Regions from separate parts of the Homo sapiens genome. Here regions 2, 3, 4, 5 and 6 are each linked to region 1. The links are contacts of gene promoters, found by promoter capture Hi-C in blood cells and fetal thymus (Javierre and others, 2016). All regions are on one chromosome and are shown on one strand. Each heading gives the region's core, a stretch centred on a gene start or on the middle of the fragment in contact. The rest is flanking DNA. Distances are from core to core; before and after follow the strand shown.

What was found. Contacts are between HindIII fragments. The CHiCAGO score rates a contact against its expected background, and 5 or more counts as called.
Region 2: a contact is called between a fragment that was not itself captured here and the fragment with the promoter of ELF4 in region 1, in 1 of 17 cell types (fetal thymus). The highest score is 5.0, in fetal thymus.
Region 3: a contact is called between the fragment with the promoter of OCRL here and the fragment with the promoter of ELF4 in region 1, in 3 of 17 cell types (monocytes, activated CD4 T cells and total B cells). The highest score is 7.0, in monocytes.
Region 4: a fragment that was not itself captured here is called in contact with the fragment with the promoter of ELF4 in region 1 in 3 of 17 cell types (total B cells, M2 macrophages and naive B cells); the score reaches 7.8 in total B cells.
Region 5: a fragment that was not itself captured here is called in contact with the fragment with the promoter of ELF4 in region 1 in 9 of 17 cell types (M0 macrophages, total B cells, naive B cells and 6 more); the score reaches 12.4 in M0 macrophages.
Region 6: a fragment that was not itself captured here is called in contact with the fragment with the promoter of ELF4 in region 1 in 5 of 17 cell types (naive B cells, activated CD4 T cells, non-activated CD4 T cells and 2 more); the score reaches 6.8 in naive B cells.

The regions. Positions count from the first base shown.
Region 1 is chrX:130,109,196-130,111,794 of GRCh38, reverse strand. It overlaps ELF4 (E74 like ETS transcription factor 4), which reads left to right and starts at 1,298. Exons shown (of 9, transcript NM_001421.4): 1 at 1,298-1,470. It also overlaps a transcript of RAB33A not described here. RefSeq lists silencers at 567-686, 757-806, 817-866, 1,117-1,266, 1,347-1,416. The HindIII fragment of the contact is 7,600 bases long and covers 1-2,599 here.
Region 2 is chrX:130,913,581-130,916,179 of GRCh38, reverse strand. No RefSeq gene overlaps it. Among named protein-coding and RNA genes, the nearest start is that of ENOX2, 12 kb to the right of the region's middle. The HindIII fragment of the contact is 938 bases long and covers 808-1,745 here.
Region 3 is chrX:129,538,943-129,541,541 of GRCh38, reverse strand. OCRL (OCRL inositol polyphosphate-5-phosphatase) reads right to left here and starts at 1,283. Exons shown (of 24, transcript NM_000276.4): 1 at 1,064-1,283; 2 at 719-798. The coding sequence starts at 1,102. RefSeq lists silencers at 1,070-1,269, 1,380-1,439 and an enhancer at 1,156-1,450. The HindIII fragment of the contact is 8,325 bases long and covers 419-2,599 here.
Region 4 is chrX:129,558,815-129,561,413 of GRCh38, reverse strand. OCRL (OCRL inositol polyphosphate-5-phosphatase) reads right to left here. Exons shown (of 24, transcript NM_000276.4): 8 at 2,413-2,574; 9 at 763-864; 10 at 121-235. Among named protein-coding and RNA genes, the nearest start is that of OCRL, 20 kb to the right of the region's middle. The HindIII fragment of the contact is 2,612 bases long and covers 1-2,556 here.
Region 5 is chrX:129,578,180-129,580,778 of GRCh38, reverse strand. All of the region lies in intron 18 of OCRL (OCRL inositol polyphosphate-5-phosphatase), which reads right to left. Among named protein-coding and RNA genes, the nearest start is that of OCRL, 39 kb to the right of the region's middle. The HindIII fragment of the contact is 1,167 bases long and covers 731-1,897 here.
Region 6 is chrX:129,596,487-129,599,085 of GRCh38, reverse strand. No RefSeq gene overlaps it. Among named protein-coding and RNA genes, the nearest start is that of APLN, 57 kb to the left of the region's middle. The HindIII fragment of the contact is 1,227 bases long and covers 689-1,915 here.

The DNA.
Region 1 (2,599 bases), core at 49-2,548:
GGGAGCGTGCCTGAGTGGCTTTCAAGTGGGCGCGTGGAGCAGAGCAGCCTGGCTTTGGACAGGGGAAGAAAGGTAGGCATGGGCTTTCTTCCAGCACCCGAACTCTGGCTCTCTTTGCACTTGCTGGGCCAGCCCCTCTCCCCCTAGCCCTTCCCCTGACTCATATCTTGCCAGCGTCCCCCACCCCAACTTCCCGCAGGAGTCCTAGACTCGACTTCCCTAAGAAGTCGCCGAAACTCTCCAGTCACCCCAGGTGTTACGCCCAGGATTCTGCGGAGTCGGGCATATGGTTCCAAAATTGTATCCTCTGGGCATCTCGCGGCCTCACCCGCCGCACGGCCCGCCCTCCCGCTGGGGCCTGCACACCCCAGGAGCTCAATAATGTGGAGCGCAGGGCTTGGCCCAAAGGCGTCAAGCAAGTCTCCACTTGCACGGGCCGAGGGGGCTGGACGAAACCTTCCCGAGTCCGCGGGGAAGGGATTTCTCTGCGGGGCGTTGTATGGGGGCTTCGCACCGGGAAGGGCGCGGAACGAGCAGAGAGCTCGGAGTCTCGCTGGCTAGAAGCAGAGTGGGGAGCGCCCGCCCGGGCCGCGGCGCACGACGCGGGCTCTGCGGGCGCCCTGCCTCGTGGTCCCCCGGGCGCGAGCGAGCCGCGAGGGGAATGAGAGGCCGCGCGGGCCCCTGGCACGGCTCCCCATGCCGTGCTGGCGACCGCGGCGGGCGGGCCGGGGCGGACGGGCGCTGTTTCCACCGAGATGCCTCGTCCCTCCCTCGTTCCCTCCCCCACCCCGCCCGCCCGCAGTCCCTCCCGTCGGTCCCTCCCTCCGGCTCTTCCCTCCCTCCCGCCCTGCCTCCTTCGCGCCCGCCCCATCCGCCGCCTGCGGGGACGTGTGTGTCTCTACTGCATTTCCCCTTTCGCTCGCTCGTTTCGGTGCATGTCTGCGCCGGTTCGCGCCCCCTCCCCGGGCGCCCCTGCCGCCCCGTGTCTTGGCCCGGCCCTCCCCGGCGTCCGCCCCGCTCCCCGCGCGCTCCACCCCGCCCCCCGCCCCGTTTTATCAGGGGCGCCGCCGTCTCACCTGGTATTTGCATCTCTCCCTCCAACTTGCCATTGGCGGCGCGAAGTGTGGGAGAGCCCTGCGCCTCGCCCGCCCGGACCAGCCTGCCCCGGCGCCGAGGTGAGTCACGGGCGCGGGGTGGCGGGGGCAGGCGGGCGGGGAAGAAGGGCGGGCGGGGAGGAGGGCGGGGGACGGCGGCCCCGGCGGCCGCGGGGACCGACCGGGCGCCGCGCTCAACTTCCACTTCTCCTTTCGCCGGCGCCGAGTTCCTGGCGCCGCTCGCCCGGCCCGGCTTCCGAGGGGAGAGGACGGGCTGGCGGGGCTGGGGACCCGCGTCTCGGCCCCCGGAGCGGGGACCACGGAGACAGACCCCGGCCCGGCGACCGAGCTGGGCCCGTGAGCCACTCGGCCTCAGGTACGTCGATGGCGCCGGTTCTTCGAGCCTTGGGGGACGTGGAAAAGTTTGCTTGAGGGCGGAATCGAGAGCGCCGGGGCCCCGGCGTGGGGCTGGGGGCCCAGGGAAGGGCGGGAGAGTCGCGGAGTGTCGCGAGCCGCCCTGGAGTCGCCCCGCCGCGCGTGTGATGGAGAACCCGGGCTCCCGATCCCGGGATGGAAGTGGAATGGATTCCCCGAGTCGGGGAGTCGGGGTAGGGGCCCCTGTTTTCCCTCGCCCCCGGCAGCCTGGGTTCCGTGACGGGGCCGATCATGACAGCGGGCCCCCAGAAGCTGGGCGCCCGAGGGCAGAGGAGGTGGGGCGGACCGCGGCGGAGCTGCTAGATGGATCCGACTGCCCCCGGGGCTTCTGGGGCCAGGGCTTTAGGGTCACACGCACACACGCGCACGCAGACCTATGATGTGGAGAACTGGATCGCCAAAATAGAGACCTCTTGGCAGGGGCCGGAGTTTCCGTGTGAGCCAGCCGCCAGCCTTCCCGCTCCCGCGTTCCCGCTCTCCCCGACTCTCCCGCCTCCGGGTTCCCTCCTGGGCCGCCGCCTAGGGGATTCAGCAGCCGCACCGTGCGGGGTCCCCTCACGCCAGCGCCTTGCTTTGGAGGCTTGAGGGACTGCTGAGGCGGTGACCGCTTTATGAATTCCTGGCTCCTCCACCGCACCCTAACCCTGACTCCCTTTTCTCACCACCGTATGCCTGCACATCACCTTCCTGACCAGAGTCACCTCCTGACCCCTTGGCACCTCGGCTCAGCGAGGTCCTCCTGGGCCGCCCCCGCCCCGCACCATACCCCAGCTGAGGGATTTGATGGCCATTTGATTCCTGCCCCTCATCCCTCGGCCTGTGATAGAGGCCTGTCTGGTCCTGCAGCCTCTTCTGGTTAATGTTTGACAGTTCATTGTGGCTAATTATTTTAATTAGCTCTTAAAGTGGGAAAGAACAGTTAACCTTGGACTTCTCGATTTTGGCCTGGTGGGGCCTCAAATGGGAGGAGTGCTGGGGAGGTGGGGAGGTAGGAGCGGAAGTGAGGTCACCACCCCAGGGCCTGAACCACCACTGCTCAGCCCCAACAGCTGGTGGGCACGCCCATTGGG
Region 2 (2,599 bases), core at 27-2,526, 800 kb before region 1:
CGCCACTGCACACCAGCCTGGGCAACAGAGTGAGACTCTGTCTCAAACAAACAAACAAACAAAACAAAAACCTCTGAGAAAAATTGGTGGCTGGAGAGTGCTTAATACGCTTCAGTTTCCACAACTTTAAAAGAAAATAATAATAATTGCTATCATAATAAGGTTATAATAAGGCAAAAAAGAGTTATTCCTTGTAAAGCGCTTGGAACAGCACCTAGCATGTAGTAAGTGCTATCTTTAATTTTATAGCTGTAGTATACACTTCTCATATTAGCAGCCCTTAGCCACAGTGAAGCCCTCCAGACAGGGTGTTTTAGGAGGCTAACCCTGTCCTGGCTCTCAGTCACTTCAGTCTCCAGTTTCCTACTTAATCCTGAATTCATTCTGGCACACTACAGGATCTGTGACATCCTCCTCCAAGATGTCCTTGTCAATTAATCCCCACTTTCAGCTAAAATCAGTGAGCAGCAAGGGGGCTAGAGGAGTATCAGCAAGAGCCAACATGTGGCATATCTGTTGTATATCTGGCTCAAGGTAGGTATCAAAGTGAGCAATTTTTGGCACCAACAAGAGAGCTAAGGCCTTTGACCCAATCCCATTACCCCTCTTCCTTCCTGGCAGTAGCTCTAGCCATTGCACTCTACAGCAGCTTTGCAAGCTGGCTGGAGTGATATTGCCTCACTCTACCACACTGTGTCATCATCATGCACTCCTTTCTGTGACTTAATGCTTGTTTATTTCTAGAAGGATGAGAAATGTAACATGTTCAAAGTTTTAAGTACAAACCATCATTTTACAGACAAAGCTTCAACCCAGAGAGTGGATGGGAATTGCTTAAAGTAACAATGCTGGCATGTTTGTTTCTTCCAAAGACTCTAGGCTCCTTGAGGTCAGGCACCATGATTTCTACTTGATTAGTATTTCTCTTTATATAGCATCTTAATGGTAGAAGACCAATGAGCAGCACTCCGCCTCAAGTTTTCCCTGAATACAGGGTCCATTGTTCTTCCAGTCCTAAATGCCAGCTGGGGGCCAGATTGTGAACACAGTGGTGCAGGACCAGTTGCCCTAAAGACCTGAAGTGGGCTGAGCACTCCCAAACCTACCATCTGCAAACCCTTTCACCATTTTGCTTTCTATGTTCTTTAAATCCTTTTCAAGGAGTGAGGCTGTGGGTTACAACCAAAATTCCTGGTCCTTGCAGCCCCTCAGGAGTTGGCCTCTTCACACCACTTCACTATTCCCTAGCATGCCCTCAGGGCATCTGCACTGCATAATTCTGGGACGGGGGTAGGAATGGGGAGCACCATTATGTTTGCCATTATCCTTGTGGTCTATGTGAATAGTGTAGCTACTATTCACTGATCACTTATGATGGGTTAGGCACATCAAATGAGATACCCTTTAAATAAGTGTATGTCATTTAATCCTCACAGCAACCTCATGAAGTAGGTATATTATTATTCATTTTCAAAAATGAGTAAACTGATATTAACAGAGCCCAGTTGACTTGCTTAAACCTAAAATTAAACCACTCACTAGCAGCCTGGCTCCAGAGCCTACTCTAAAGCATGATCCCATTGTTCTTAAAATGTAGTCTGCACAGACCACCTGTATTAGAATCACTTCAGGTGCAAGTAACAAGCTGTTGTGTCCCACCCCAACTGAACTGAATCAGAATCTCTGAGCATAGGACCCAGGAGTATTTGTGATTTTACCCAGGTATCTGAGATTAGACTAAAGCTTGAGAACCAATGTACTATACTTAACACATACATGCTGACTGACACAGAATCATGCATGTAAATGTATGCCCATGCATGCAAATAAAAAACATACTCATCAACACATAATATTTTACATCAGAGTAGTCCTTAGAGATAAGTGGGGGAACTTTTCCATAGTACCTGCTTTTCCAGCCAAATCATCACATCAAGAAATTTGCATAATGAATTCCACATTCCAGACTCCATAGAAAAAAATGTGTATGAAAACACCTTAGCCTCATTGGATCCTGGCAGGTGAGGATGGGTGATTGGCTCCCCAGACCCATAGCCCATCATACTTCTCCCCCTGTCTATAAGTCCATTAGGTTATGCCATAAGTCAATTTCAAAATAAAGTGAAGATGCAAAGGAAGTACGAGGTACATCAAAATCCTTGCCTGGCTAATTCTTAGCTGTATGGATTTGAATACATGACTTCATCTCTCTTGCTTCCGTTTTTTTCATTTGTAAAATTTCGATGGTAATTATAATAGTATCCATTTCATAAGATTGTTATGACGATTACACGAGCCAATATATTGAAAGAGCTTGGATTCTAAGCTCTAGAACAAGAAGTTGGCAAGTTGTACTCAATGTTAGTATAGTAGTACAAGTAATAGTAGTAGTAGTAGTAGTAGTAGTAGTAGTAGTAGCAGCAGCAGCAGTAATCAGGTTTTGAGGTTAGCATCCAACCCCTGTCTGTTTTCAGCTGGATTACAAATGGGTCTTTAGGTGGAGAACCTTGGAGAGTTTGTCAATATGGTATGGGAGAATATGTTTTTGGATCTGAACCTACGATGGAGGAAAAACATGAAGATATTTTTCTTAGCACTT
Region 3 (2,599 bases), core at 34-2,533, 570 kb after region 1:
AGCTTATCAAAATAATCTTTTGATCAATCAGTCAACAGTATTTACGGAGCTCCTATGGCAGAGAGGAAGGTGACACACTGATAAAATACTGTCATTTCTATCTCTACACATTTCATTACCTTTTCTTTCTAACAGTAAAGTCAGTAAGTGAGGCAGTTTCTGGCCTACACTAAACCATTACTGAATTAATGAATATGCCTTCAACCCAGTGGGATAAGGGGACGGGGAGACTGGAGAAACCAGCTGAATAGGGTTAAGACAAGTCTGTAACGTTAACAATGAAGCATTTCCATAGCACTTTTACTTTTTGGAAGCCACTCTCGCATTTATTTTTCCCCCAGTTATAATTCCAAAGGCTGTAAGGTAAGGCAGTTAATGGTTTTATTAAACTGAAGAGTTAACTTTGGCCCAGAAAGCTTTATTGACTTGCCCAACGTTACACAACACATGTCAGTTGCAGGGGCAGGAACTAAGAACCCAGGCTTCCTGCTTCCCCGCCCATTCAGTCCTTCCACTGAGCCACACTGCCAAGCACAATCCAGAGGCTTGGAAGTTGGGGACAAAGCCCCGAGGTTAGAGAGCACTGGCACTTCACACCTGGACCTGAACCTGTTGCCCGCGTGGCTTCAGTAGGAGGACAGTGGGTGACCCGTCGCGGTTTGGGGTTGGGAGGTAATGGCAGGCTCCCCTCCTCTGTGGGAATCAGGTGGTTACTTACTCATATTGCCCGTTCCTCTGGGCTAGGGTCAGGGCGCAGGGCTCCCGGAGAGGACCCTTCATCTCCATACCCTCGACAGTATGCGGGCGCTAGTCAAGGGTCTCCTTCGGAAGCGCGGTGGGGAGGAGTGGTGCACTGCGGGGCGAAGGGGGTCTTCCACCCCCCCCCCACCGCCGCCCTCCCCCGCCCCGCCCCGCCCTGCTTCGTCTCCCGCGCCGGCCCCCTCCCCCTCTCTGCTCGGCCTCTGGGCCACCCGGTTGCCCCGCCCCACCGTGTTCCGCAGGGCCCCCGACCCCCACCCCCGGCCCTGCGCGGCCTCCCCTCTCCCTTCTCTCCGGCGGATACGGCAAGCGGCTGGGCTCCGACCGGGAGCGGCGGCTCCATCCAGGCGGCCTCCGGGCTCAGCAGGACAGCGGACTGCGGGCCGATCCGACGACACTGGCTCCCGCGTCCCCACACCCACCCACCTCGGCTGCGTGTCGTTTGAGGAACAGCTCCGCGCCGGGCGCCGGGCGCCGGGAGCCGGGAGCGGGGAGCTGGGAGCTGAGAATCTGACCCAAGAGAGAGCGGCGCCTCGCGCCCCCGCCAGTTTTCCAGGCCGCCGCAGATTCCGTCCCCTGCGGTCAAACTGCGGAACTGCAGCGAGAGACCTGACGGACTGGGGGCGTCTCTACCAGGTCCAGCAAGGAATGGGTTTTAAATGCCACCTGTGACATCAAAATTGTTCTGAGGACTTTGAAGGCCACAGAAACAAAACACAGTCATACCTATGGGAGATCTCAAACCTGTTGTGTCAATACGACCCACATCATTCAGTAAAAAAATACATATATATATATATATATATTTCTTAAGGTTATAATGTCCCGTGTTGGTTATCCTACCATTTCCTTTCCTCTTCTTTCTTCCACGCCCTAAATCGGAGAATTCCCCAAAGCCCAGACCTTTGCTCCTCCTCTGCGTCCCCTCCAGTTCACCTCTAACTAGACAATGTCCAAATATATATCCCTGGCCCAGACCTCTTACCTAATAGAGTCCATTGTTAACACATCACTGCGTCACAAAACTAACTCATTATCATTTCACTGGAAAGCCATATATCGTCTTCCCCCTCCTCATCTCTATATCCAATCAGTCAACACACCCTGTTAATATTTTACGTGGAATTACTTTTAGATTCCTTATTTTCTCTCCATTCACACTGCCATAACTTTATTGTAAGCCCTTGTGATAGCCTATCTGGGTTATTGCACTTTTCTTTAAATAAATCCTGTTGGGTTTACTCTTTCCTTTGACATGTTTACTCTGTTGACAGCCATAAAAATATTTTTCCCAAAGTAATTTTTCGATCGTGTTATTCATTTGCTCCAGAATCTATAATACACTAGATATCAAGAGTGACTGTAAATCTGTAGTAATTAAAAGTATGCTGTGGAGATAGACAATCAATGAAACACAATATAAACCCCTCAAACAGACCACACATATACGGAAGGTTGATATGCAGCGTGTGGGACATTTCAAATCAGTGGGGAAAGAATGGATTATCCACTAAGTGGTACTAGGACTACTGCTTATCCATATGGAAAATTATAAAAATTAGACCCCTACCTCAAACCATGGAAGAAAAATCAGTTCCAGGTGGATTAAAGATCTAAATGTGAAAAGCAAAACTTTATAACTTTCAGAAAAAAAAATTGAGTATGAGCTTGGAATATGGAATGAGAATAAGACATTTAGCTACATGAAATTTCAAAATGTATGTACTTTAAGACAATATAAACAAGTTAAAAGACAAACTGGCCTGCACAGTGGCTCATGCCTGTAATCCCAGCACTTTGGGAGGCCGAGGTGGTAGGATCACTTGAGCCCAGGAGTTCA
Region 4 (2,599 bases), core at 1-2,500, 550 kb after region 1:
ATTACACACAGAGAAGAATTCAATTAAACTATTCTTTTGGAACAAGTTGTAGATAATGGAATAACTCCCGGTGAGCCCTATTTAGTCATACACTTAAAAAGATAATTAAATGCGGCTTACTTTCTTATACTTGGCTTTGGAATGCAAACCTCTCTCTACAGCCATGGACCATTCTTGTTCCTTCACAGATTCAAAGTAGAAGAAGGCTTCTGTGCTCAAGTCCAGTTCTTGGAATCTGAGGAAAAAAGGGATATGAGATCTATACATATCCCATAATTATCTCTGGCTACCTCCTGTCCCATATGTTGAAACATTAGATGAAAAAAAGATGGGAGAGAGATAAATTTTATAGAACTGCTCTGTTCACCCAGGTTATCAGTAAGAACAAGTAGCTTTCTTTTCTAAAGAATTCCCACAAGTACATTCATAAGCTATGCAAAAAATAAATCAAAATACCTCCCACAGAGGATAACAGCAGAGCTTTGCTCTTATATCCTAGGAACTGTCACTGTTAGAACTGACCCCAAGTCTTAGTTTCTATGCAGAATATATAGATTCCTACGGGTTTCAAGAAAATTAGATGCTTCCTTACACCATTTTAGGTATCTGTTCATTTCTGTTCTCACAAATTTGACCCGCAAGTTAACTCTCGTGTATAGTCTACAGTAGGTTTTACCAACAGTCTTTTTTAAAAAAGGCAAAACATCATGTAAATGAACACCAAACATATAGCCAAAAGGAAATTCCAGAAGTGTTCTTTACCCAATGCAGTAGATATCAGGAGGATTGGGATCACAGTTCAGCCAAGGTTCTAACCCGCTATCTGGAGACTGGCCATTCACATTCCAAGTTCCAACAAAAAATCTAATACATAATACGAAAAGATAATTTGAAAACAAAGATCAAGTATAAACCAACAGAAGTTCTTTCTTTTCGCTTCCATACAAAGGTATGTTCACAATATGCTAACATAATTCCTCAAAATGTTTTGCCACATATGTAAGAAAGATCTTTTGCATCTAGAACACAAAGGCAGTGGGCTTATTTTCTCTAAATTTTACATTAAGTAAAACTACAGAAGGAAACCAAGTCTTTATTTTTAAAAAATGCAAAGGTAATTGCTATACCACATTTCCTTTCAATTAAGCTCCATCCAAACTCATACTTGATAGGAGAGCTTATGGATGGGAAAGAGGTATCTTCATGCTGTAAGCTAGTCAAATATGGATAAATGTTCTATAAGGGGCTATAGTTGACTCCAGGAACTCACTTCCTGAAGGATTACAAGGACATCTGTGTAGGAAATTCTGATGAGGCAGACATAGTATTAAGGGGGAAAGCAGAAGGGAAAACTCATGACTGTCTTAACTGTTTACACACAAATATAAGCATAGTGGGGGATATGAGGAACTGCAAGTTTTAGCATAGGGATATAGTTATGACTGAATTAGAATAAATGAGGTATGACAGGATAGCAGATGGGACTAGAATCTTGGACTAGAAGGGTACATTCTGCTCATGAATAACAAAGAAATGTGGTGTTGCTTCATGCATTGGCGATACATGCCACATGGTACCTCACATGCAGCATACACACACAAGTCCAGAAAAAAGATGAAATAAAAAATAATACAGATAAAAGAACCCAAGATAGACCTCCCAATCAAGAGGACTGGGTGAAACTTTCTTTATTTACCAAAGTAAGTAAGTTAAGAGCTAGTGGTAATGATGGACTTTAATTTTCTAATATTGGCTGAAAAAAAAAAACTTAACAGGCCAGATATATAAACACGCTTGCTTATGGAATGTGCTAGGGGAAAATTCTCTAGTACATGTGACCTTGATTTGGTTCTCTAGGACTCAGTAGAGACATTAGTAGACATGGCATTATTAGTAGTTAGAAAATCCAAGGGAAGGCCAAGCACGGTGGCTCAAGCCTGTAATCCTAACACTTTGTGAGGCCAAGGCGGGTGGATTGCCTGAGCTCAGGAATTTGAGACCAGCCTGGGCAACCTGGTGAAACCCAGTCTCTATAAAAAACACAAATATTAGCTGGATGTGGTGGTGTGCACCTGTAGTTCCACCTACTTGCAGGGCTGGCGTGGGAGGATTGCTTACGACTGAGAGGTTGAGGCTACAGTAAGCCATGATCTATCTGCTCTCCAGCCTGGGTGACAAAGAGAGACCCTGACCCACACACACAAAAAAAGAAAATCCAAGGGAAACTGTAGCATCTGCATTATTTCTGATATGCATGTTATTGGCCAGCATAGAGACAGGAGCTTGAAACAGGCAACCATTCCTTTTTATCATATTTTGATTCTTAATTAGGCTAATGTCTTAAATATCAACAGGCCACTGTCTGTTATATATACTAACTTTTTAGACTCAGGAAGCAAAAGAGACACTAACCTGAAAGTCTGAATGTTGACATATTCTTTCTCTCGCTTTGCCAGGATATGTTTGATGAGACCCTCCCGCTGCCCAGATTGGGTATTTGGTACAAAGAGCTTCCGCATGGTGTTGGTCACTTTGGGCTGCTCCTTGTTAGAAGCTTCTTTTTCACGTGGAAGCCTAGCAAATAAATGAGAGATTCAAA
Region 5 (2,599 bases), core at 65-2,564, 530 kb after region 1:
TAAGAAATGGATGGTTAGATTAGTAAGACAAAGTAAAAACATAGTGAAAAAAACACTACGGACAAATTAACAAGTTATTCCTGTTATTTCAAACTTTTGATATTGTTCTCCCAACAGATATGTCCCCAAGCAAATATAGTTTCTCTACCCATCCCTCAACTTTTTTCATCTCCGTATTTACAACTTAGCCACATCTGGCAAGTTCAAGTCTTGTCTCCTTTCAATTAGTCCATTCTACAAGTAACACCAGAATGTTCTTCCAACTATATCAATTTGCAACCTCATACTAATCAGCAAACCCTTCTGATGGTTCTAGATACCCTCTGGCTCATGCATAAACTTATCTATTGACTTCAAGACTCTCTACCACCTGCCCCATTCTCCCTAACCAGCTTCATACATTCTTATCCTTGATCTTCACTTGTCCCAGGGAAATCTTACAGTTTTTCATACATGGTCTTTTCACTTTCACCTTCTACCCTTTATTCAAGATGTCCTCTAAGCCTGGAAGAGCCTGCTCACCCACTATATTAATAAGTGTTTCTTAAGTACTTGGACTTGACTGAAAATACTTCTATAACTAACTCCAAATCACCTTCCTAGTTCACTTTATTCTTATGTGCTAAACTTATTTCTCAGTCATGTTAATGTTACATGTATCAAATATTCATTAAAATGAAAACAGGCTGATTCTGATTTCTATAGGGATTAGCTGGTCAGTCAATAAGCTTTTATAGCATATAAGGGCTTGAATAAACAACATAGGAAAGGAACCTATTGTTAATACAAACTACAACCTTCATAGCAGTCACTTTAAACGACTTTCCAAAATACTGACTTACCAAGCACACCAGACATTAGCCAGTAAAGGTGGTTAATGTTCAGATTATCTTTAACCAAACTCCCTATTAACCATGACTTAAAGTTTAGCCATATTTTATGTGCAAATATACTTTCATCACCACTAAATTATGGGAACTCACATAAACTCCATAATACTTTGTATCCAGTGTGTAATGAATCAATATTGAGGATTATTTGCTACTTAATATTCTAGTTAATATAACAGAAAAATCTATCTTAATTCTGAAAAACAATAAAGATGATTACAAATGGTAGATTTTCATCCGTTTCCCACTTGTGCTAATCTCAACTATTCTAGGAGTGGCAAAGTCACTATTATGAAAAGGGCTGGAAGGATGAAAAATAATTATGTCAGTTATTTCATTCTGCATTTGGTGGGAAGATGGTGTGGCATAAGGATCTTTCTAAAACAGTGCATAAGGATCTTTCTAAAACAGTACATAGAGAGACAACACATACATTGAACTCGTTTCTGGCTTTACCAAAATTTTAGAGCAAATAATACAACAGAGGGCAGGTACCATTATTAACAGCATCATCTCATGAGATTTGAAATACGATATTGGGTCTTGGGGAAAAAAAACATGAATACTATACCTGAGGAATCATTTCAGAAGGTCAAAATCAAGTCACAACAGAGTGAGAAGGTATTAAAGATGGGATACTAATTGTTTTTAGATTTCTTGTTTACTGCTCCACAGTAATGCAGGTTGAGTATTCCCAATCCAGAAATCCAAAATGCTCCAAAACTCGAAACTTTTTGAGTACTGTCATGATGATCAAAGGAAATGCTCATTGAAGCATTTCAGATTTCCGATTTCCAGATTAGGGAAGCTGAACTGGTAAGTATATAATGCATATATTTGAAAATCTGAAAAAGATTGAAATCTGAAACACTTTTGGTCCCAAGCATTTTGGATAATGGATAATCAACCTGTATAGATAATTTCCTCATCAATGAGATACAGGAATTTAATAACACTGAAATGCAACAGACTGTGAAAAGAACCCTAAATCCTACAAAATAAAAGCTTTAAAAGAAAAATGATGTCCACACACATACAATTTAATAAAAACTCAGAAATTCTGTAATTAAAAATGATCAGGGTTCTATTATTTTAACCCTCAATCACTTGTGCACAAAAAGAAGGAAAAAGGCTTCCCAAAGAGCCATTCATTCCTCTAATGATTTTGGTTCCTTTCTGTTCATGGGCAAACATGGTAAAATTACCTGATAGTATACTTTACATAAAATAAAAACTTTATGAGGGTTGAGCCTCTTCTGGCCAATCCCAGAATATGAAAAACTGCAAAGTTTTTCATATTAATGGCTTTGCAGTTTTTCATATTAATGGCAAAGATATTCTAATATCTTCACTGACTCTGACTAAAAATAAGGGTAGGTTCCTGTTTACATGAAGGTGGAAGGAGAGAGTATAAATGGGATAAGTTTAAAAAAAAAAAAAACAAGAAGGAAACAACCAGAAAAATTTAGGAAATGGTTGACCCTTGACTGGACATTTGTACTGGACTCTTAAAAAAGTCAATGTCACTAAAGAAAGTAGGAACTGTACTACTCCAATAGAGACTTCAGAGACCTCACCAAATACTATATGAACCCAGATTGGATTTTGGTTTAAAAAAAGGTATAACAGAAATTCTTGGGACAACTGAAGAAATCTGAATATGGACCGAATGTTAAATGATACTATGGATTACTGTTAGTTTTCTTATA
Region 6 (2,599 bases), core at 53-2,552, 510 kb after region 1:
TATTCTAGGGACCTCATAGAAGTAGAATCATACAGTGCTTTTTGGGACTGGCTTATTTCGTTTAGCATAATGTCCTCAAGGTTGATCCATGTAGCAGCATGTGTCAGAATTCCTTCCTTTTTAAGGCTGAATCATATTCCATTGTATGTAGAGAACTAACACATTTTGTTTTTCTATCCATGGACATTTGGGGTGCTTCCATCTTTTGGCTATTGTGAATAATGCTGCTAGGAACATGGGTGTGCAAATATAGCTTTGAGACCCTGCTTTCAATTCTTTTGGATATATCTCTAGAAGTGGGATTGCTGAACCATATGGTAGTTCTAGTTCTAATTTTTTAATAAACTTTGAGAATCAATTTTAAAAAGCAAATTTAACAAGGCTGATTTTGTTGCCTACAAAACAATAGAAAATAACAGTACTGTGTGGTTGCTAAAAACTATTATCTTCTTGGATTACATTAATATAATTCAGTAAGTCCCCCCCTACCACATGAACTCCTCTAAAGTTAATAGAGCTCAGAATGAATAATTAAATGTATATACATTTCAGGAACACTTATTGGATACACTTATGCTTTAACAGACAATCTTTATTTATTAGCCAAACATCATTGAACACTTACTCTCTGCAAGGCATTGTGGGGAAACTAAAATACGCCCAGCTTGGTTCCCACTCTCCTGAAGCTTCCAGTCCCAAAGGGGCAACAACATCCTTTGGTATGTAGTGTGTTAAAATAGTGGTACAGAGGGCAGGTTCTAGGAGTTCGGGGGAGGGGGGTGGTGGGCAGGGGTTGTGGGAAAAGGCTTCCTGGAAGAGGTGACATTTGGGTTTGATGGGGTTTGGGCAGGTGGAGAGGTGGGGGCTGGAGGGTTCCAGGTGGCTGGTACAGACCACCGAGCCAAAGCAGAGAGTGCGCATGAGTTTAGGGAAGGGAACGGCATGAGAAGGTCGAGTGGGAGACTCAGCCTGAGAGGTGGGTGGAAGAGACTAAGGAGAGCTTTGCATGCCAGGCAGAAGGATTGGAACTTCTGTGGCAAGTGGGCTGGGGGGCCAGCAGGGGTCTGGAATAGGGGAGAGACATCAAAACAGTGCAGTGATGTGTACAGGGAGAGAAACTGGCAACTGAGAAATTAGTTAGAAAGGAGTTAAATACATCAGGCGATTTAACTCCTTACATGAGGCAATGAGTGTTTGAATTTTATTGGTGGGGGGGTGGGGCAGGAGTTGGAGGGGCTGGGAAATGCGCAGTGGAAAGGAGGGGCCAGCTAGAGACTGCGGTTGAGCTGATCTCGGCCCCTTTTCCGTGGAGGTCCTTCCTTCCTCCCTCCTTCTTCTTTCTTGCTTTCTTCCCTTTTTCTCATCTTCCTCCCTCTTTTCTTCCTTCCTGCCCTTCTTTCATCCATCTTTCCTTTTTTTCCTTCTTTTAAAAAAATATTGGCCAGGTGCAGTGGCTCACACCTGTAATCCCAACACTTTGGGAGGCCAAGGCAGGCTGATCACCTGAGATCAGGAGTTCAAGACCAGCCTGGCCAACATGGTGAAAGCCCGTCTCTACTAAAAATAAAAATACAAATAAATTAGCTGGGTGTGGTGGCACGCGCCTGTAGTCCCAGCTACTAGGGAGGCTGAGACAGGAGAATCGCTTGAACACAGGAGGTGCAGGTTGCAGTGAGCCAAGATCGCGCCACTGCACTCCAGCCTGGGCAACAGAGTGAGACTCCGTGTCAAATAAAACAAAACAAACAAAAATATTATGTCTGTCTTGTCTTGTAACGACCAGTCTCACCCATTTTGGTTTCCTTCAGAACCCTGCATGGTAGCCTGCACTTGGCAGGTGCTGGATAAATATTTGTTGAATTGCAATTGGTAACTGATTAGAAAGTGGGGCAGGGGCCAAAAATAACCAAAAGCTTAGGCCTGGGTGATGGGAGAGAGGAGGATGCCAGGAGAAGCTGGTCAAGGTCAAAGAGAAGTTGAATTTGACCTGCCAGCAGGCAATCTAGCTGACATGAAATCTTGGGATGTAGCTAGAAGGGATAGGGGTTTTAAGAAGCACCCTCACCTTCATGCCCACTCCAGCTGGGGAGACAATGGCTGTGTTTAAGAGCACAAATTTTGGGCTCAGAAGTCATTTTCTGGTCAGCCACTAGCCGAGTACCAAGTTATGCTGTCTCTCTGAGCCTCAGTTTTCTCACCTATAAAAGTGGGCTAATGGCCGGGCATGGTGGCTCACACCTGTAATCCCAGCACTTTGGGAGGCCAAGGCGGGTGGATCACGAGGTCAGGAGTTTCAGACCAGCCTGGCCAAGATGGTGAAACCCTGTCACTACTAAAAATACAAAACTTAGCCAGGCGTGGTGGCACGTGCCTGTAATCCCAGCTACTCGGGAGGCTGAGGCAGGAGAATAGCTTGAACACGGGAGGTGGAGGTTGCAGTGAGCCGAGATTATGCTACCGCACTCCAGCCTGGGTGACAGAGCTAGACTCCGTCTTAAAAAAAAAAAAAAAAAGTGGGATAATGTAGTACTTTATCAGGCTATCGTAAAGGCAAAAGTGATGTTAAATGTATTAGTATCTGGGATAAATGACAGCTAGA